7 separate regions of the Homo sapiens genome follow, and regions 1, 2, 3, 5, 6 and 7 are each linked to region 4. The links are contacts of gene promoters, found by promoter capture Hi-C in blood cells and fetal thymus (Javierre and others, 2016). All regions are on one chromosome and are shown on one strand. Each heading gives the region's core, a stretch centred on a gene start or on the middle of the fragment in contact. The rest is flanking DNA. Distances are from core to core; before and after follow the strand shown.

Evidence for each region. The method cuts DNA at HindIII sites, captures the fragments that hold promoters and counts their contacts. A CHiCAGO score of 5 or more calls a contact.
Region 1: a contact is called between a fragment that was not itself captured here and the fragment with the promoter of PPP4R3B in region 4, in 1 of 17 cell types (activated CD4 T cells). The highest score is 6.1, in activated CD4 T cells.
Region 2: a fragment that was not itself captured here is called in contact with the fragment with the promoter of PPP4R3B in region 4 in 1 of 17 cell types (total B cells); the score reaches 5.2 in total B cells.
Region 3: a contact is called between a fragment that was not itself captured here and the fragment with the promoter of PPP4R3B in region 4, in 1 of 17 cell types (fetal thymus). The highest score is 6.2, in fetal thymus.
Region 5: a fragment that was not itself captured here is called in contact with the fragment with the promoter of PPP4R3B in region 4 in 1 of 17 cell types (total B cells); the score reaches 5.4 in total B cells.
Region 6: a contact is called between a fragment that was not itself captured here and the fragment with the promoter of PPP4R3B in region 4, in 4 of 17 cell types (M2 macrophages, fetal thymus, total B cells and 1 more). The highest score is 8.7, in M2 macrophages.
Region 7: a fragment that was not itself captured here is called in contact with the fragment with the promoter of PPP4R3B in region 4 in 3 of 17 cell types (total CD4 T cells, total CD8 T cells and total B cells); the score reaches 6.1 in total CD4 T cells.

What each region holds. Positions count from the first base shown.
Region 1 is chr2:53,951,999-53,954,698 of GRCh38, forward strand. The region is part of intron 1 of PSME4 (proteasome activator subunit 4); the gene reads right to left. Among named protein-coding and RNA genes, the nearest start is that of PSME4, 18 kb to the right of the region's middle. The HindIII fragment of the contact is 601 bases long and covers 1,104-1,704 here.
Region 2 is chr2:54,545,994-54,548,693 of GRCh38, forward strand. The region is part of intron 2 of SPTBN1 (spectrin beta, non-erythrocytic 1); the gene reads left to right. The region is part of intron 1 of SPTBN1-AS1 (SPTBN1 antisense RNA 1); the gene reads right to left. Among named protein-coding and RNA genes, the nearest start is that of SPTBN1-AS1, 11 kb to the right of the region's middle. The HindIII fragment of the contact is 349 bases long and covers 1,275-1,623 here.
Region 3 is chr2:53,969,959-53,972,658 of GRCh38, forward strand. PSME4 (proteasome activator subunit 4) reads right to left here and starts at 1,035. Exons shown (of 47, transcript NM_014614.3): 1 at 585-1,035. The coding sequence starts at 826. It also overlaps a transcript of ACYP2 not described here. RefSeq lists enhancers at 1-647, 914-1,208, 1,504-1,553 and silencers at 704-903, 878-1,039, 914-1,303. The HindIII fragment of the contact is 6,659 bases long and covers 1-2,700 here.
Region 4 is chr2:55,616,201-55,618,923 of GRCh38, forward strand. It overlaps PPP4R3B (protein phosphatase 4 regulatory subunit 3B), which reads right to left and starts at 1,422. Exons shown (of 17, transcript NM_001122964.3): 1 at 944-1,422. The coding sequence starts at 1,085. It overlaps PPP4R3B-DT (PPP4R3B divergent transcript), which reads left to right and starts at 1,730. Exons shown (of 3, transcript NR_186624.1): 1 at 1,730-2,182. RefSeq lists enhancers at 378-1,304, 1,305-2,229, 1,323-1,722, 1,743-1,792. The HindIII fragment of the contact is 10,945 bases long and covers 1-2,723 here.
Region 5 is chr2:54,103,210-54,105,909 of GRCh38, forward strand. It overlaps a transcript of ACYP2 not described here. Among named protein-coding and RNA genes, the nearest start is that of ACYP2, 11 kb to the right of the region's middle. The HindIII fragment of the contact is 305 bases long and covers 1,231-1,535 here.
Region 6 is chr2:53,929,213-53,931,912 of GRCh38, forward strand. PSME4 (proteasome activator subunit 4) reads right to left here. Exons shown (of 47, transcript NM_014614.3): 10 at 2,623-2,700. Among named protein-coding and RNA genes, the nearest start is that of PSME4, 40 kb to the right of the region's middle. The HindIII fragment of the contact is 648 bases long and covers 1,040-1,687 here.
Region 7 is chr2:53,989,859-53,992,558 of GRCh38, forward strand. It overlaps a transcript of ACYP2 not described here. Among named protein-coding and RNA genes, the nearest start is that of PSME4, 20 kb to the left of the region's middle. The HindIII fragment of the contact is 187 bases long and covers 1,258-1,444 here.

The DNA of each region.
Region 1 (2,700 bases), core at 154-2,653, 1.7 Mb before region 4:
GGAGCAAAAGCTAGAATCATTAAAATGTTATTTTAAATGAACACAAACATCTCCCTAAAAACTGGAACACATTTTTAAGATAAAGACAGAAGACATCAAAGAAAAATTCCCTGCTTTCAGTGGCTGCTTCAGGCCTTGTCAATATTCCAGATACCAGCCAGGCGTGGTGGCTCATGCCTGTAATCCCAGCACTTTGGGAGGCCGAGGTGGGCAGATCACGTGAGATTAGGAGTTCGAGACCACCAGCCTGGCCAATATGGTGAAACTTTGTCTCTACTACACACCTGTAATCCCAGCACTTTGGGAGGCCGAGGCAGACGGATCACGAGGTCAAGAGATGGAGACCATCCTGGCCAACATGATGAAACCCCTGTCTCTACTAAAAATACAAAAATTAGCTGGGCATGGTGGTGCGCGCCTCTAATCCCAGCTACTCGGGAGGCTGAGGCAGGAGAATTGTTTGAACCTGGGAGGCGGAGGTTGCAGCTGAGCCGAGATGGTGCTAGAGTTCTCCAGCCTGGGCAACAGAGAGAGACTCAGTCTCAAACAAACAAACAGAAAGATTCCAGATGCCCCTGGAGTCATGCATTCATTCTCCCCTGTGGTTAGGATACTTCTGCAGAAAAACTAGAGAAACACTGTACTCTAAGCCAGCAGTCCCCAACCTTTTTGGTACCAGGGAGAATCTCATAAGGAGTACACAACCTAGATCCCTTGCACGGGCAGTTCACAATAGGATATGAGCTCCTATGAGAATCTAACATCATGGCTAATCTGACAGGAGGTGGACCTCAGGCGGTAATGCCCAATCGCCTGTCCACTGCTCACCTCCTGCTGTGCAGCCCGGTTCCTAACAGGCCACAGACCCATACCAGTCCCTGAGCTGGGGGTTGGGGGACCCCCTGCTCCAAGCCACTGAAGTAACTTAGCTACAGCCCATTGTTTTCATTGCAGTAGACAGACAACTGTATATTTAACATTAGTTAGGGACATAAAATTAACAAAGCTCAAATTTTAATACTATAAAAAGAGACCAACAGGGGGATTCCTGGAAAGCCTAGGGCTGCTGACAAATCTAAAGATTCTGGAGGGACTCCTCAGAAAGCTTCTATTTCCCCCAGTTCCTCGCCAACCAGCAAGTGGTTCTTATCTCAGCATTTATCAAAATATGGTGCAAGAGATTTGTTTTAAAAGGGCACAAAAGTTCTAACTATAAAAAGAAAATTAATAAATTGGTCTTTATCATAAATAACTTCTAGTCACTATAAGACACCATTAAAAGTAAAAAGCCCAGAAATACATATATTTGACAAAGAACTCATATCCAAATTACTAGTAAGAAAAAGACATAATCCAATTAAAAATGGGCAAAAAGGCTGGGCGTAGTATACCTGTAATCCCAGCACTTTGGGAGGCGAAGGCAGGAGGATCAATTGAGATCAGGAGTTCAAGACCAACCTGAGCAACATGGTGAAACCCCATGTCTATTAAAAAAAAAAAAAAAAAAAAGAAAAAGAAGAACTATGCAGGGTAACTTTTAAAATGCATTATTCTTGGGATCCAAAAATCCTAGGAATATTAAATCTCAGTAAAGCTGTTTGTCTTTTTTTTTTTTTAAGGTGAATGAAAAATAAATTCCTGGAGTGCTAGAGTGCAGACTACCAATCTTCATTTTTTAGACTACTCTGGTTTGACTTTCCTGTAAGCTTAAGTTCAAAAACCCTACTTTAGACTGTATCTACAGATGGTGCATTCCCTCTTTCCAGTTAATTTTCACATTAGGTTTTAGGACTAATGATTACTATTAGGTGTCCCAAAATAACTGAAAACCCTGGTAAACAGTCACGATTGAACGTGATTGATATAGAATATTTCTTTCAACCATCCAGAATATATGGATAACAAGTCATTTTGTTCCATCCTCCCACAGGGGAAGAACAAAAAAGAGTAAAAGATAATACAATAGCATTTCCAGCCGCTTCCTCCTCACAGCCCTACAGTGTATTAATCAAATGATTTAATTTTTAATCATAAGAAAGACAGTGGGCTGGCCGGGCGCGGTGGCTCACGCCTGTAATCCCAGCACTTGGGGAGGCCGAGGCAGGCAGATCACGAGGTCAGGAGTTCGAGATCAGCCTGACCAACACAGTGAAACCCCATCTCTACTAAAAATACAAAAATTAGCCGGGTGTGGCGGCACGCGCCTGCAAACCCAGCTACTCGGGAGTCTGAGGCAGGAGAATCGCTTGAACCCGGGAGGCAGAGGTTGCAGTGAGCCAAGATCTCGCTGCTGCACTCCAGCCTGGGCAACAGAGGGAGACTCCATTTCAAAAAAAAAAGGAAAGAAAGAAAGACAGTGGGCTAGGCGCCATGGCTCATGCCTGAAATCCCAGCATTTTGGAAGGCAGAAGCAGGAGAATCACTTGAATCCAGGAGTTCAAGACCAGCCTGGGCAACAGAGTGAGACCCTCATCTCTATTATACATATTTAAAAATGTAATAATAACAAATTAATAAAAATCCTTCATCTAGCAATACTATCTTGAGTAAATAATTCAGGTCAGGTGTAGTGAGTCACACTTGTAGTCCCAGCACTTTGGGAGGCCGAGGCAGGCAGATCACTTGAGGTCAGGAGTTCAAGATCAGCCTGGCCAACATGGCAAAACCTCCACCTCTTCTAAAAAATACAAAAATTAGCTG
Region 2 (2,700 bases), core at 199-2,698, 1.1 Mb before region 4:
CCTAGTCTCTTGTTAATTTTTGTTAATGTTTTATGCTTGATGAGTCAGAAATGCAGGCTCTTGTAGAGTGTTATTAACAAGAACTAGTGTAACTTTGATTATAATCACTACAAATTACAGACCTCTTTCCTGTGTAATGATTTTTGCCATTTGCCCTTCCGTGATCTCTAATAGGCCAACTACAAGGACAATTTTTTGATCAGTAAGAACCTTGGTCTGTTGCTTCATAAGCCCTTATTATGGCAAAATTATTCGTAACAGCAAACTATGTATGTACCCACATTGACAGAATATCAGTGTTCTTTAGCTGGCTGGGCAAAGTCTAAGTGTTTCAGGATAGTTGATGATGGGGGTATCACAAAAACTTCAGAGTAAGAAAAACTTGTCTGATATCTGTTAAAGTGATCTGTATACATGTAGGCATTCTCCTGTATATGTGCATACACACACTCCTAAGTTGTGTAAATGTGTACCTGCCTGCTTGAGTATGATGCATTGCTACTATTTCTAAACTACCAATTTATTTCCCCTGTGTTTTGAGGACTCAATCTCAAAGATGCTGACTGAAAAATAAAGTTTTTGAACAATTTCATGAAGGTTGGGTTGTCGAGATCATGAGTTCTGACTCTAATGACAACTCTGTGGGAAATGGATAAACTCTGATAAACTCTATCGCACTGCACACAAATGTGAGGCTGGAAGGCAGTACGTAATTTATGAGGCCTTTTGTTGTAAAAATGAGAGTTGGCAGGATTCCGAGTAAATATCTTTTTTCCTAAGGGTGGAAGATAGGACTTGGAGAGATCAATGTGTTGGTTGACAGCATTTGAGAATGTTTGATTTGAGCTTCAGCATCATAGGTGGGGAACATGTGGCTTTATAGATCTGCTGTTTCTTCCCCTGCCCAGTGGTGCATTCCTTGTCTTTACTGAAGTATGTTTTTAAAATTCATTTTTAATGGTGGTAAAAAAAAAAAAAAAACCACATAACATAAGGTTTACCATGTTAACCATTTTTAAATGTAACTTCAGTAGAGTTAACTATGTTCATATTGTTGTGCAGTCAGATCTCTAGACCCTTTTCATTTTGAAAAACTGAAACTCTACACCCATTAAACAATAACTCACCACGTTCCCCTTCCCCCAGCTCCTGGCAACCACCATTCTACTTTCTCTTTCCATGAGTTTAACTACTCAACATACTGCATGTAAGTGGAATCATGTAATATTTGTTTTTTTTCTAACTGGCTTATTTCATTTAACATGATGTCCTCAAGCTTCATCCATGTTATAGCATATGACAGAATTTTCTTCTTTTTAAGTAATATTCAATTATATGTATATGCCACATTTTGTTTATCCATTCATCCATTGATGGACATTAGAGTTTTCACCTCTTGCTATTGCGAATGATACTGCAATGAACATAGGAATGCAAGTGTCTCTTTGAGATCCTGCTTTCAGTTCTTTTGGATATATATCCAGAAGGGGAATGGCTGGACCATATGGTAGTTATATTTTTAATTTTTTGCAGAACCTCCATACTATTTCCCACAGCAGCTGCACCATTTACATTCCTACCAACAGCGTACAAGGGTTCCAATTTCTCCATATCCTTTACTGAAGCTTTTAGAATGTTATTCAAAATACGATATAATGGAAAAAAGGCACCAACGTGGTCTCAAATTGTGTTTTTCTTGGTAGATGGTAATTAAAAGGGTAATGGTGATTAAGGTATCGGTGATAAAAATAGTAATGAAAAGAGGTGAGTGGAGAGGTAGTTATAGGTGAGCTTGGCAGGTATTAGAAAAGAGCTTAGTCTTTCTCTTCTTTCTCTTCATTCTTCACCTGTCATTAAAATTCTAGTTGTGGCCAGGCGTGGTGGCTCACACCTGTAATCCCAGCATTTGGGAGGCCAAGGCGGGCAGATCACGAGGTCAGGAGATCGAGACCATCCTGGCTAACACGGTGAAACCCCGTCTCTACTAAAAATACAAAAAATTAGCCAGGCGTGGTGGCGGGTGCCTATAGTTCCAGCTACTTGGGAGGCTGAGGCAGGAGAATGGCATGAACCCAGGAGGTGGAGCTTGCAGTGAGCCAAGATCATGCCACTGCACTCCAGCCAGGGCAACAGAGCGAGGCTCCATCTCAGAATAAATAAAATAATTCTGGTTGTGATGAATAAATCCATTTGTCAGGTATTTTTTTAAGTGCCTCCTGAGTAGGCTATTCCTCAGGACACCATAAGAATAATAAAGGAAAGATCAATGTATAAAACTGAGAAAAAGGATTTTTAAACAACAAAGTTTGCTGAGGCCAACTTTGTGTATGGTTCTACACTGGGCTGGAAAGATGACATGGAAGCTGTGCTTGTACCGCATCCTGGGCTGTCATTCTCTCTGAGCTGGTGCAAGTTGGACATCAGAGAACATAAACAGATATCACTCATCTAGCACTCAGGACAGGCCTTTTGGCTCCACCTTTGTGGTGGATGCTGGAAGGCAGTGGGGAAAGGACATTAAGGTGAGTTTTCCCTGATTCCAAGCCCTGGGCCCACTTCATTGACTGGCATGAGAAATGCACGCTACTTCCTTTGTGCTTAGCTTCCTCTTCCTTCAGGTTTGCTCTAGAAATGGCAGCAGGAATTCAGAAGGCCTGCTTTCTAATCTCCAGCATGCCGGTAGCTTGCTTTGTAACTCTG
Region 3 (2,700 bases), core at 42-2,541, 1.6 Mb before region 4:
GTCTGACTTTAAACGACCCTTTTCGATCAACTCCGCCAGGTCTGAGAGGGCCCCCAAAAAGCAAAACCCTTAAGTTTCCCTATGGTCTTCTCTCCATTCAGAAAGTTACTAGACGCCAACGGAGATGCGAAGAGGCGGGGATCGTAGGGGAAGGAAGAACCGGAGGAAGCAAGGAGACAAGTCAAGGAACTCCCCCAAAGACAAATTCTCTTTGCCCCGCCTCTCCCATGCGCAAAAGTCCACGGAGGACCCTTGAGAAAGGCTCACCTCTCTCCCTCGGGGCCGGGGCCCTTGGGCTACCCAGGGCCCCCCAGGTGGGAAGACAACAACCCGAACACTTCGGGAGAAGCAGATGCGGAGGACGTAGAGGGATGGTAAAGACCCGGGAAGTCCCGTAGGAAAGTGGCAGGGAGGACGGCTTGAGTACTTCACAGGCTCTGTCACGACCCTGGGATCACCGCTCGGGGACAGCTCCAGCGAGGACAGAGCTAAGGGTCCAGCCCTCTGGACAAAGAGCAACCATCCCCGACACCTCTCACTGAGCCTTTCCCCCCGGCCCGGCCCGCAGGCCCGGGCACACTTACGTGGAGAGTTTCCTGGTCCAGAAGAGGCCCCCGGGCCACAGCTCTTGGAGCTGCACGGCCCGGCCCAGGTTGCATTTGATCTGGGCCAGCTGCAAGTCGGACTCGGCGTCTAGCCGCTCCGCGTAGGGCAGCAGCTTGTTGTAGACGATCTCCTTCTGCGGGACGAAGCCCCGCGGGCCCGGCTCGGGACGCCCGCCCGGCTCCGGGGGCTCTCCGACTCCCGCCCGCTCGGCCGGCTCCATGAGCCCAGGGACACCCCCCCCACCCCCTCCCACCCGAACCCTCCCCGGCCCCCACCCCTCTCCGGGCTCCGCCTCCTCCGCGTCTTCGTCGCCCTGCGGCCGCTGGCGGCCCGTCGCCCTCGGACCGATCGCTAGGCCCCCTTCCCTGGCCGGCGTGCTGCTGGGCCCCACGCGGCTCTCAGTTCGTTGGCGGCGGCAGCGGCCGCTCTGCCCGCCCCGCACCGGCTCTGCTGGTGACGCTGCAGCCGCCGGGCCCAGAGGTTCCGGACCGGCCTCAAGTCACTTCCGGGGCGGGGCGGGGCGGAGCGACGGCGTCGGGGGAGGCGGTGGTGGCGGCAGCTGGAGCCCAACGGGCTGCGCCTTCTTCGCCGTGGGCCCGGCTCGGAGCCCCCACCCCAGGCCTCACCGGCCCAGCGCGAGGCTGCCTCACCGGAAACACGAGGCCGAATTCCAAGCTATTGTCCTGCTTCGCCGGGGGTCGCGCACTCCAAGCGGCAGCCCACTGGAGTCCCAGTCGCCACGACAGGCGGCAGCCAGGTCGGCCTGGTCCCCCTAGCCGAGCAGCCCCGGCTTCTGGGTTAGAGGGGTTTATGGAAAAGCCTACGTACCCACTTGCTCCTTATAGATTTATTTACTCCATCCCGCTTGTTCCTTATAGATTTAATTTTTCTGTCCCCTTTAAGTCCCCATCTTTCTGGTATTCTGGCCGCCATCATTCCAAAGAAGAAAATAGTTACTCGCTGAACAAATGCTATTTGAACAGCTGTTTTGTGTGTAAGGCGCTCAGTTTAGGCTATTGAGATAGAAAGTTTAACCTGGTTTCCGCCCTCCCAAGGACTTAGTCTAGCAGAGATAAAGACGTGAATTACAAGATAATGCTCTTAATTGCTAGATAAGTACAAGAATCCTTAGGAACTCTACAAAGAAGTTGAAACTAGGGGGTTTGAGAGGGTGTCATTTTCCTAGAAGTGATACTTAATTTAAGCTATGAAGGTTGAGTGCAAAGTTGGTTAGAAAAAGGAGGGAGGAGGACACGTATTTCAGCTGAGAGAACAGCTTTGACGCTGCAAGCATGTATTCTAAAAATTCAAAGTTCAAAATAGCGTAAGAGAGGGGACGGAGAAATGAGACTGAGAAGGCAATCCTAAGGAATTCAGAGCTTTATCCTAGAGACAAACTTCCAAAAGATTTTAAGCATAGCAGTGGGATGATATAATTTACATTTTTTAAGAATTACTCTGGCGGCCGGGCGCAGTGGCTCACGCCTGTAATCCCAGCACTTTGGGAGGCCGAGGCGGGCGGATCACGAGGTCAGGAGTTCGAGACCAGTCTGGCCAACATGGTGAAACCCCGTCTCTACTAAAAATACAAAAAAGTTAGCCGGGCGTGGTGGCGGACGCCTGTAATCCCAGCTACTCGGGAGGCTGAGGCAGGAGAATCGCTTGAAACCGGAAGGCGGAGGTTGCAGTGAGCCAAGATCGCGCCAGGGCACTCCAGCCTGGGCAACAAGAGCGAAACTCCGTCTCAAAAAATAAAAGGGCCAGGCGCGTGGTGGCTCACGCCTGTAATCCCAGCACTTTGGGAGGCCGAGGCGGGTGGATCACGGGGTCAGGAGATGGAGACCATCCTGGCTAACATGGTGAAACCCCGTCTCTACTAAAAATACAAAAAAATTAGCCGGGCATGGTGGCGGGCGCCTGTAGTCCCAGCTACTCGGGAGGCTGAGGCAGGAGAATGGCGTGAATCCGGGAGATGGAGCTTGCAGTGAGCCGAGATCGTGCCACAGCACTCCAGCCTGGGTGGCAGAGCGAGACTCCGTCTCAAAAAAAAAAAAGAGTCACTCTGGCTTCGTCTGGAAAATGGGTTGGAACTGA
Region 4 (2,723 bases), core at 172-2,671:
CAAATTACAAAACAAAAACATCATGACAGGGATTAAATACTTAGTATAGAAATTACAGTGCTGCATTTATCCTTTCCTCATTAAGAACAAAAGAACACCTTCTGTAGAAGTGATGACTATTTAAAATAAAAGGGAACAAGCAAGAATACAAAATATGTCAAGACTAAACCTAAGATTATTTTTCTAACTGCCTATATCAGTTGTTCAAATCAAGTCCAGATTATACTATAAAAGGCATTTTAATTACGGCTCTACATTTTGTAATTTAAAATACTTCACATGACTACAATAAACCAAAGAACACAGCAGTTTACAACCTGCTTTGGTGTCCCAACTTGCTTAGATTGTAAGGCATTCACTTTCTCATAGCGCCTTCTACAAAGGCAGCCCGAAGAAATGCAGACTACAGATGTATGTGCTTGTGTGTCCATGTATCGTGGCAACAGTCAGCAATACAGCCAGGAAAACGTGCCTTTCGGTTTTCCCCAGCACCTGTCGACTGTGGCACCTGGGGCCCGTTGGTACAATTTTTTTTTTTTAAAAACACTCGGAAAGAAAAGTTTCCCTAAACCGTTTGTACTAGACGTATAATGGATAAGTAAATAAAGGGGGAGGAAGGTGTCAGCTCCTAGGGCGACATCAGTACCTAGTCTCTCACTACTTCCTCCCTTCTCTCTCACACTCTCCCCTCTTCAAAAGAGGAGGGACTGGAAAGGAAGGAGTCCAATCCTTAAGAGAGATGGGAGAAGGACAGAGAGTCTCGGTCTCCGAGGATAAGTCCAGTCAAAAGTACAGTACTTTGTTTTTGCCGTACACAAGAGCCAGTTCAGAACCAACGCGCTGTCCCGAAGGAGTAGCAACGGTAACGGGCCCAGGGCCCTAAACCCAAGCTGTGCCCCAACCAGAGGCACTATCCCCTATTCTACAGTTCCGATAACCTTACCGTCGGACTCTGCCCGAACCAGCAGCGACATCCCCTTGAGCTCCTCCACGTAAGTGGAGGAGACGTGCCCGGTGCCTCGGTCGTCCCATTGCCGGTCTTCGTTCAGGGTATAGACCTTCACTCGCCGCCGCGTATCCGACATGGTGGCTGCTGTCTCCACCGCTCTAGCCGCCGCCTCCTCGCTTACCTCGTCCGCGCTCCTCACTCTTAGGAGACGGTAAAGGCAGTAGTGGCGGTGGCGGCGGCGGCGGCTTCGGAGAGGCCCGAATTCACCATGGCTCCAAAGGTTCAGCCGCGAGAAGGGGTGACAAGAGCCACTGAGGCCTCTCCGCCCGGAGGCCCCGTTACCTCTCACTTCACCCGCGCATACACCCACTCTCCCGTCTCTTTGCCCCCCAGGGCTCGCTTGCTCTCCCGCCGCCGCGGTAACTACTACAGATCCGCCATCTTGTAACCCGACTCTCTCTGCCTTTCTCTTCCTCCTCCAGCAGGCTCGCACGGGCTGTCCTAGCAGGGGCTACGGCGGCCGACAAGTCCCATGAGCAGCACCTCCGCTTCTGCACGCGCTTCCCAGGCCGGAATGCTCGGCGCTCTCGCGAGGAGGGGTACCGACTGGGGCGGGAGTACTTCGGCGAGACTTCCTCCTCTTTCGGCCCGACTTCCTCCTCTTTCGGCCCCGCCTCTTGGCGCGGGGTCGCAATTGGGCGGGAGGTTCTCGCGATCTCCCCGTCCACGCCTGCGCCGCGAGAGGCCGCTAGGTGGAAGGGGACTTCGGTTCCGCACGTCGTCATGTTGTTGGATGGCACCAGTATGTGACGTTCCTAGGAACTTAGCTCTGAGGAAAAAACAAAGCAAACCGGGGAAGTACGTAGCCTTGAACCGGAGTAACCAGGGACAGAAAGGAAGGAAAAGGGTTTCATACCTTCACGGAACGACGCTCACTTCGTCCGCCTGAGGAGGAAAAATAAGTTTAAACCTTTCTGTGAAAAAGAACGTGGAGCCCTTTCTGCCGAATGGAAACCCGCTAAACCCCGTTATGGAGTCTGCTACAATTAAGCATCTAACCAGGAATTGTCTATGGACACAACTCTCCAGGCAATTCATGCAGAAAGTGTGTTGACGATTTCCTGTTTCTTGCAGAGCGCTTCACCGTTAAGGCTCTTAGTAGCTGGCGATTGTAAAGCACATTTTCCGCTTCATGAAAATACAGTGCTCTTCTTGTGTTTGTAACCTTGGAAAGTAAGTCTGCTATGATAAGTTTAGGGAAGTGGCGGGGAGCTACTTTCCTAACATATCTGTGATTGTTTTGATACTTCTCAGTTTCTCGCGGGCATTTCCTGCGTTCTCTATAGGGCTCTCTTGCACTGAATAAGGAAAGGAGGAATTCTCTCTGCATTGAGGCTATTATCGCACATTGTGCGGTGGATATAGTCACGCGCTGGGTCGTAGTAGCGTGTCGTTTATTTCAGTCCAGCTCACTCTTGGTAGAATCCCTTTATTCGTTTTGTTGTTTTTGATAGTCTCTCTCTGCTTCCCAGGCTAGAGTGCAATGGCGCTATCTCGACTCACTGTAGCCTCCGCCTTGAGGGCTCAAGCGATCCTCTCACCTCAGCCTCCCGAGTAGCTGGGACCGTAGACGCCTGCTCCCCATCCCCGCTATATTCGTTCTTTAATACAGTCTCTCAGCTTGTTCAGCTGCCACTTCTGTGCAGCTCATTAGCCTGATCGGTGAAAACTAGGCGAGACGCGCACACTGACCCTGCAGTGCATCTTGGGAGTT
Region 5 (2,700 bases), core at 133-2,632, 1.5 Mb before region 4:
AAAGAAGTTTTCTATCAAAAGTTGGGGAGAAGGAATAATGCATAGATAAAAGCAACACATGTCCACCACATCATTGTTTTATTTCACATTCATTCATAAACATTATTTCAGATATCTGTTGATCATTTGCATTTGGGTTTTTATGAGTTATCTGTCCATTTTGCTGTTAGGACAGTGCTTTTAAGGTGTTCCTAACATCTTAACCTTGGTCTTAATTCCTTTCAGTTTTGCATGCTGGAAATGTTTTTTTTCCAGTTTGTCATTTGCTTCCTAACTTTGTTATTTACATTTTTATTCAAGATTACTGTTTTAAATTACACATAGATCCATGCAATGGGTATTATGCTTTTACTCATCCTCATTCTAAACACTAAATAGTTGTATGGCTTAGTTATTACTCTGATTTAACTTCTGTGGCCCAGTTTTCTCATCTGTAAAATGGGCCATTGATTTTCTTCCTATTCTTCTAACATGTTTATGACTATGAAATATGATTTATTTATTTGAAAATATAGAGCTCAAGAAAGTGAATAGGAAATATTAGAGAATAGTGTTCTGAGCATTAAATATCAGAGGATCTTTAATGGTATCCCACAGGGAGTACTATGAGTGATTCATATGCAGCTTGATGTTGCTCTGTAGCCAAATAGAGCAGAATAAGCCCCTCCCCTTCCCCACCCTTTGCCCTAGCCGGCCAGGTCATGCAGCAGGCAGAGGAAATGCCTGCAGCTACACTGAATACAGATGCCAGTCAGATCCTGCAGGTTAGAGAGAGTGCTGCAAGGCTAAGCTAAACAGACCAAAGCCAGCCCCAGGTTGAACAAGAAAGCAGGCAGCCAGTATTTTCCTGAGTGTAACTGTGGGTACTGCCTCTATTGGCGGTAGAGACTTGGTACTTAAAATGAACTTCGAGCTGTTCCAAATGTACAGATTAAGAACATCTGGCATGTAGAATTAGGATTCTGATGGGAGATATATACTGATGCTGCCTGGTGTGGGACAAGAGTACATTGATGCATGGATGATGATCAGTAGTCTTGGAGAACAGAATCAAGATAGGATGAGAAAAGAAAGTATTCTTTGATTATAATGACTAAGTGTTCATAAATTCCTTCATGAGGAAGAAGTGGAAATTATCAGAGCCTCCCACTATGTACCTTTGGTATTATAGTGTATTATATATTTATTTTAAAATTGGTGTGTAGTAAAATGGATAACCATAAAAGGGCAAGCTTAGTCATGTAGCTCAAGTCCTTTTGTCACCTTTGTAAAGAACTTTTCCAGGTTTTGTTAAGTAGACATTTTTGATGTAGTTAGATTTTACCAAACTGCTAGATACAGAACTCTGGAGCCTGAGTGATACACCAAATAAACAGTCACCTTACAGGCTACTGTTTTAGTCTTATGTTAGTCTGAGTATTCTACACTTGACAAAAATCACTTTGACAATGAGAAAGTATTACATAAAAGTCATTTATCACAATCCCTCAGATCAGCAATCCTCAACCCTGGCTAAACAGTAGAACTACCTGAGAAGCTTTTTAACAACTGCTGATGGCTGGCCCAGCACCATATTAATTACATTAAAATTTCTGGAGATGGGAAGAACACTCCCCAAGTTCCCCAAGTGAACATAATGTGCAACTAGACAAAAAAGGCTGATAGGGGATTGCACAAAAAGTGGGGTCTAGTCAGGTCTTAGAGGATAACTGTGTCCACAGTGTAACACTGTGTTACAAGCTGAGGCATGGGGTATAATTCAGGTATTCCCTTCGAAGCCTACACAATTGTTAGCAAACTATCTAGTGGTCTCTGGAAGATATTTTTGGGGAAATATTCAGATGTTTTTTGAATACTATTTTGTTGAAAACAATTCAGGAAATTTCCCCCCAGGAAAACTTCTGATTTGCAGCATGCAACATAGAGCCTGAGCACTCTTCCCCGGCTTCCCACTGTACTTGGAACAGGAACCAGACTCCACCGTGGCTTCCACAGCCTGGCATGACCTTTCTCCTTGCCTTGACTGAAAGCTGTATTTAATGCCACCATCTCATATTTTATAATGCAGCAGCCACACTGGGCTTCTTTCAGTTTCTCCTACTTGGGAAACTCGAGCTTTCTACATGCTATTCCCTCTGCGTGGATTAAGTTCTCCCACCTTTCTTCTTGGTTTCTTCTTATCCATTCTTCAGCGATCACTTCCCCAGAGACCTTCCCAGACAACCTCTCTAAGCCCTAATCTACCCCCATCTCTAAATTTTTTAAATTTATTTATTTATTTATTTTTGAGGCAGGGTCTCGTTTTATTGCCCAGGCTAGAGTACAGTGGCATGATCATGGCTTACCTCCCTAGCTCAAGTGATTCTCCCACCTCAGCCTCCCAAGTAGCTGGGACTACAGGTGCAGCCTCCCGAGTAGCTGGAACTACAGCCAAACCACCATGTCTGGCTAATTTTTGTATTTTTTGTGGAGAAGGGTTTTGCCATGTTGCCCGGGCTGGTCTCTAACTCCTGGGCTCAAGCGATCCTCCTGCCTCAGGCCCCCAAATTGCTGAGATTACAGGCATGAGCCATTGCGCCTGGACCCTATTAATAAATAAAACATCACCTTCTCCCCAGCACCTACACATGGCACATACTGGGTATTCAGTAAACATCTGTTGAATGAGTGAATGAAAGACTGTTGAAGGCAGTGTGGCAG
Region 6 (2,700 bases), core at 114-2,613, 1.7 Mb before region 4:
GCCATCCTAATCTATATTATACTAATCTAACGGTCAGTCAGTGGAATAACAAGTTACAGATACTCTACTCTTTCTTTCCCCTGACCACCCCCAACCCTGGAGTCAGGGTTTTACTCTGCCCCAGGCTGGAGTGCAGTGGCCTGATCACAGCTCACTGCAGCCTCCACATTGCCCAGATCAGGTAAACCTCCTGCCTTGGCTTCTCAAGTAGCTGGGACTACTGGCAAACGTTACCACTCCCGGCTAACTTTTGTATTTTTTTTGTAGTGACAGAGTTTTGCCATGTTGCCCAGGCTGGTCTCAAATTCCTGAGCTCAAACAATCCATCTTCCTCAGACTTCCAAAGTCCTGGGACTACAGGCATAAGCCAGCCTAGCTGCTTATTTTTTTTTTTTTTAATGGAGAAAACATACCAAACTCTTTAACAGAAGCTTTCTTGGAGATGTAAAACTAAGTGTCTAAGATTTTTTTCTACATTTTTAGTTTTTAAAAAAGTTTTGCTTTTATTAAAAATAAAATCTTTGGCCAGCCATGGTGGCTCACACCTGTAATCCCAGCACTTTGGGAGGCCAAGGCAGGCGGACTGCTTGAGGTCAGGAGTTCAAGATCAGCCTGACCAACATGGTGAAACGCCATCTCTACTAAAAATACAAAAATTGGCTGGGCATGGTGGCAGACACCTGTAATCCCAGCTACTCGGAAGGCTGAGACAGGAGAATCGCTTGAACCCGAGAGGTGGAGGTTGCAGTGAGCTGAGATCATGTCACTGCACTCCAGCCTGGGCAACAGAGCAAGAGTCTGTCTCTAAATAAATAAATAATAAATAAATAAATAAATAAATAATAAATTTTAAAAGGTGATGCCACTTCAAAACAGCACCAAATTACAACTGAAAGTCTCAAAAAATGTCATTGTATTGTCAATTTGGTCTATTAAATATTTATCTTGGCCAAGCATTCAATATCACTTAATATGCTGATATTACATTTGTCCAAAATTTTAGGACTAAAGAAAAACGTGATAGGTCTATTTATTTATAAGCTTTGTTCTTTCTACTAAGAATTTAGCTCACTATTCATAATTAATCAGCTGAAAATAACAAAGCAAAGGGGAACTAAAGAAACATCAAAAACACTCCAAACTTCAAAATGTTAGCTAAGCAAACAGATGAAGTCCCTCCTCTCCAGGGAGCATCAGGGAACCTAACATTAACTGTTGGCTTCTGCTACTCTGTGGAGGCCAAGAAGCAAAGAATACTGGGGGTTGAAGACGGACAGGAAACTGCCTATCTTCCCCCACTCCATTTCCTAATTAAGTTCTATAAGCTGGAAGAGTTTCAATGCCCCAAGATGTATATGTAAAAATAGGAGAAGTTGGGAAAATGAAGTACGGCCTAACTTGAATATTTATGGCAATGAGGGCAGGTAAGGCAGCATCAACAGCTCAAAATTATAGATAATGGAGGCCCATTTTGGTTAAGATCTTGAACACGGTATCCTTCCCCAAGTAAATATGACCAACACTTATTCTGTCTCAACAATAAGTCAGAAAATAGGCTATAGTCTGAATTCTACCACTAGGGACCTTGGACAAATTTTTATGGAACTCAATGGCTAGATCCTTCTGGGTTCTAAAAACTAACATTCCTCCTCTATATTTGACAAAAACATTTAGAAAGAGATCATAAAGCTTCAGATAGTGGAAGAATCAGAGGTACAACAGAAAGCTTAAGTAATTTGCTCTTGAACAAGTTACTTTAAAAATTGCTCTCAAATTAAGAGTAGGCCGGGCACAGTGGCTCACACCTGCAATCCCAGCACTTTGGGAGGCCAAGGCGAGTGGATCACCTGAGGTCAGGAGTTCGAAACCAGCCTGGCCAACATGGTGAAACGCCGTCTCTACTAAAAATACAAAAATTAGCTGGGTGTGGTGGCGGGCGCCTGTGATCCCACCTACTCAGGAGGCTGAGGCAGGGGAATCCTTGAACCAGGAAGGCGGAGGTTGCGGTGAGCCAAGATTTGCACTCCAGCCTGGGGGACTACAGCAAAATTTCATCTCAAAAAAAAAAGAAAAGTAGCTGTCTCTCTCTTTGTAAGTATACCACGCCTATTCTGTGACAGTGGCTAGGCAAGTAAAGAGTTTTCCTTACCATTTCAACACACAAAACACAATGAATAAAATAAAACTTACACTGTAAAAACAACACACCTGAATATATAATACATGAAAATAATAAACACAATTTTCTTCTCTACCACTGATTCTAAGAAATAAAAGAAATCCAAAAACCACTTTCACTGCCATATTCTCAATCCTTAGTGACACTCAACATTTCGATCTAAAAAGGAAGGCCAGATCTTAATTCATAAGCATATAATTTTGGTAACTAAAATGTGTGAAGAATCCAAAAGATGTATGTTACCCATTTCATTTCAATTTTTTTCTCTCCAATAAACCTTTATCAAGTTACCAATCATTACATTAAAATGTCCTGCTTCTCCTCTAGGAACAGGAATAAGCATCGAAGAAGCAAAACAGAAGCCACAGAGGAGAAAAGAGAATCGAGCTGAACAGACCAAAAGAAAAACCTAGCTGTGGCTGAGACTCCCACTAACCACTTACCTTTCAAGTACAGGGGGTATTACCAATTCAGGTCTCATGAGTGCAAGATTCTGCAAAGCCTGGGCTGCTTCTAGACTA
Region 7 (2,700 bases), core at 101-2,600, 1.6 Mb before region 4:
GCAGCATCTCCACCAGACTGTTCCTGCCACTCCTACTCCCTTGGTCCCAGCCAATTGTTTGAGAATGTTTTCATCATTTCTCATCACTTCTGTGAGTTACATAAACCCTTTTCTTTTCTTTTCTTTTTTTTTTTTTTTTGAGATGGAGTCTTGCTCTGTTGCCCAGGCTGAGTGCAATGGTGTGATCTCGGCTCACTGCAACCTCTACCTCCTGGGTTCAAGCAATTCTCCTGCCTCAGCCTCCGGAGTAGCTGGGTCTACAGGCATGCACCACTACACCTGGCTAATTTTTGTATTTTTAGTAGAGGCAAGGTTTCACCATGTTGGTCAGGCTGGTTTTGAACTCCTGACCTCAAGTGACTTACCCGCCTCGGCCTCTCAAAGTGTTGTGATTACAGGCATGAGCCACCACTCCTGGCATATAACACTTTTCAGTAAATTCATCTTCTATTTAATTTAGCCAGAGTTCACTTCTAACAAGCAAGATAGTTGATATATCAAGAATCCTAGCTGGGAGCTGTGGCTCATGCCTGTAATCCCACCACCTTGGGAGGCTGAGGCAGGTGGATCACCTGAGGTCAGGAATTTGAGACCAGCCTGGCCAACATGGTGAAACCCCAAATATACTAAATATACAAAAATTAGCTGGGCGTGGTGGCGGCCACCTGTAATCCCAGCTACTTGGGAGGCTGAGGCAGGAGAATCTGTTGAACCCGGGAGGTGCAGTTTGCAGCGAGCCGAGATGGCACCATTGCACTCCAGCCTGGGAGACAAGAGCAAAACTCCGTCTTACCAAAAAAAAAAAAAAAGAAAAAAAAAGAAAAAGAATCCTCACTTTCAGCAAATTAGCATAAAGCAGTGGTTGAGAGAGCTTCTACTGTCAGAGTTTCTGATTCAGTAGGTCTGCAGATGACCTAAGAATTTGCGTTTTTTTTTTGTTTTGTTTTTTGTTTTTTAAGGCAGAGTCTCGCTCTGTCGCCCAGGCTGGAGTGCGGTGGCGCGATCTCGGCTCACTGCCAGCTCCGCTTCCTGGGTTCACGCCATTCTCCTGCCTCAGCCTCCCGAGTAGCTGTGATTACAGGTGCCCGCCACCACGCCCGGCTAATTTTTTATATTTTCAGTAGAGACGGGGTTTCACTGTGTTAGCCAGGATAGTCTAGATCTCCTGACCTTGTGATCCGCCCGCCTGGGACTCCCAAAGTGCTGGGATTACAGGCGTGAGCCACCGTGCCCTGTCGAGAATTTGTGTTTCTAACAAGCTTCCAGGTGATGCTGCTGGTCAAGTGTTCAAAGGTATGCTGCTGGTCATCATCAGATGTTGTGATTTTATAATTTTCTCTCAAATGTTGCTGAGTAGCATTCTATGAACATACCATAGTTTGCTTATCCATTCATCTGTTAATGGACGTTTTGGTTGTTCCCAGTTTCTGGGTATTACAAATAAAGCTTCAATAAATATTCATGTATAAGTCATTGTATGGACATATAACTACTTTTCTCTTGGATACATACCTAGGCATAGAATGGCTGGTGTATGTGTAACTTTTTTTTCTTTTTTTTTTTTTGAGATGGAATTTCACTCTTTCGCCCAGGTTGGAGTGCAGTGGTGCGATCTTGGCTCACTGCAACCTCTGCCTCCTAGGTTCAAGTGATTCTCCTGCTTCAGCCTCCTGAGTAGCTGGGATTACAGGCATGCGCCACCACACCTGGATAATTTTGTATTTTTAGTAGAGACAGGGTTTCTCCATGTTGGTCAGGTTGGTGTCGAACTCCCGACCTCAGGTGATCCACCTGCCTCAGTCTCCCAAAGTGTTGGGGTTACAGGTGTGAGCCACTGTGCCTGGCCGTATTTCATCTCATATATTGATTTTACCTCATTCACCCTGCTCCAGGCACTCCGACCTTCTCTCAATTTTTTTTAAGTTTTTTATATTTATTTATTTTTATTTAGCGATGAGGGCTAAGTATGTTGTACAAGATGGAGTGTAGTGGCTATTCACAAGTGCGCTCATAGGGTACTGCAGACTCGAGCTCTTGGCCTAAAGCAATCCTCCTGCCAAGCCTCCCAAGTAGCTAAGACTACAGGCACATGACACCACACCCAGCTTCTTTCAATTTCTTGATCAAGCCAAGCTTTTTCACAATGTAAGAGCTCTTGCCCCTCTTTCCCTCCTTCCTTCCTCCCTCCTTCCCTCCCTCTTTCCTTCCTTTTTTCCCCTTCCTTCCTTCCTTCCTTCCTCCTTCCCTCCCTCCCTCTCTCCCTTTCTTCCTTCTTTCTTCCTTCCTTTCTTTCTTTCCTTCCTTCCTACTTTTTTTCTTCCTTCCTTCTTTCTCCTTCCTTCCTTCCTTTCTTCTTTCTCCTTCCTTCCTTCCTTCTTTTCACCAGTGTCATAGTAAGCACTTACTTTTAATTTTAACCTAGTGAGTGAACCAAGCACTTAAATTTACTCTAAGTGCAATGGAAACCTATAGACAAGTTTTTAATCAGGAAAATGATATAAATTGATTTAAACTTTCAAAAGATCTCTCCTGACTCTGAATGGACTATAGATTATAAGGGGATAAGAATGAAAGTACTGTGACTAATTAGGAGGCGTTTTCAGCAATTCAATGAGAGATGACAATGGCTTGTATCACGGTAGAAGTAGTGCCAACGGTGAGAAGTACTCAGAGATGAGAAATATTTTGGAGGTCGGGTGC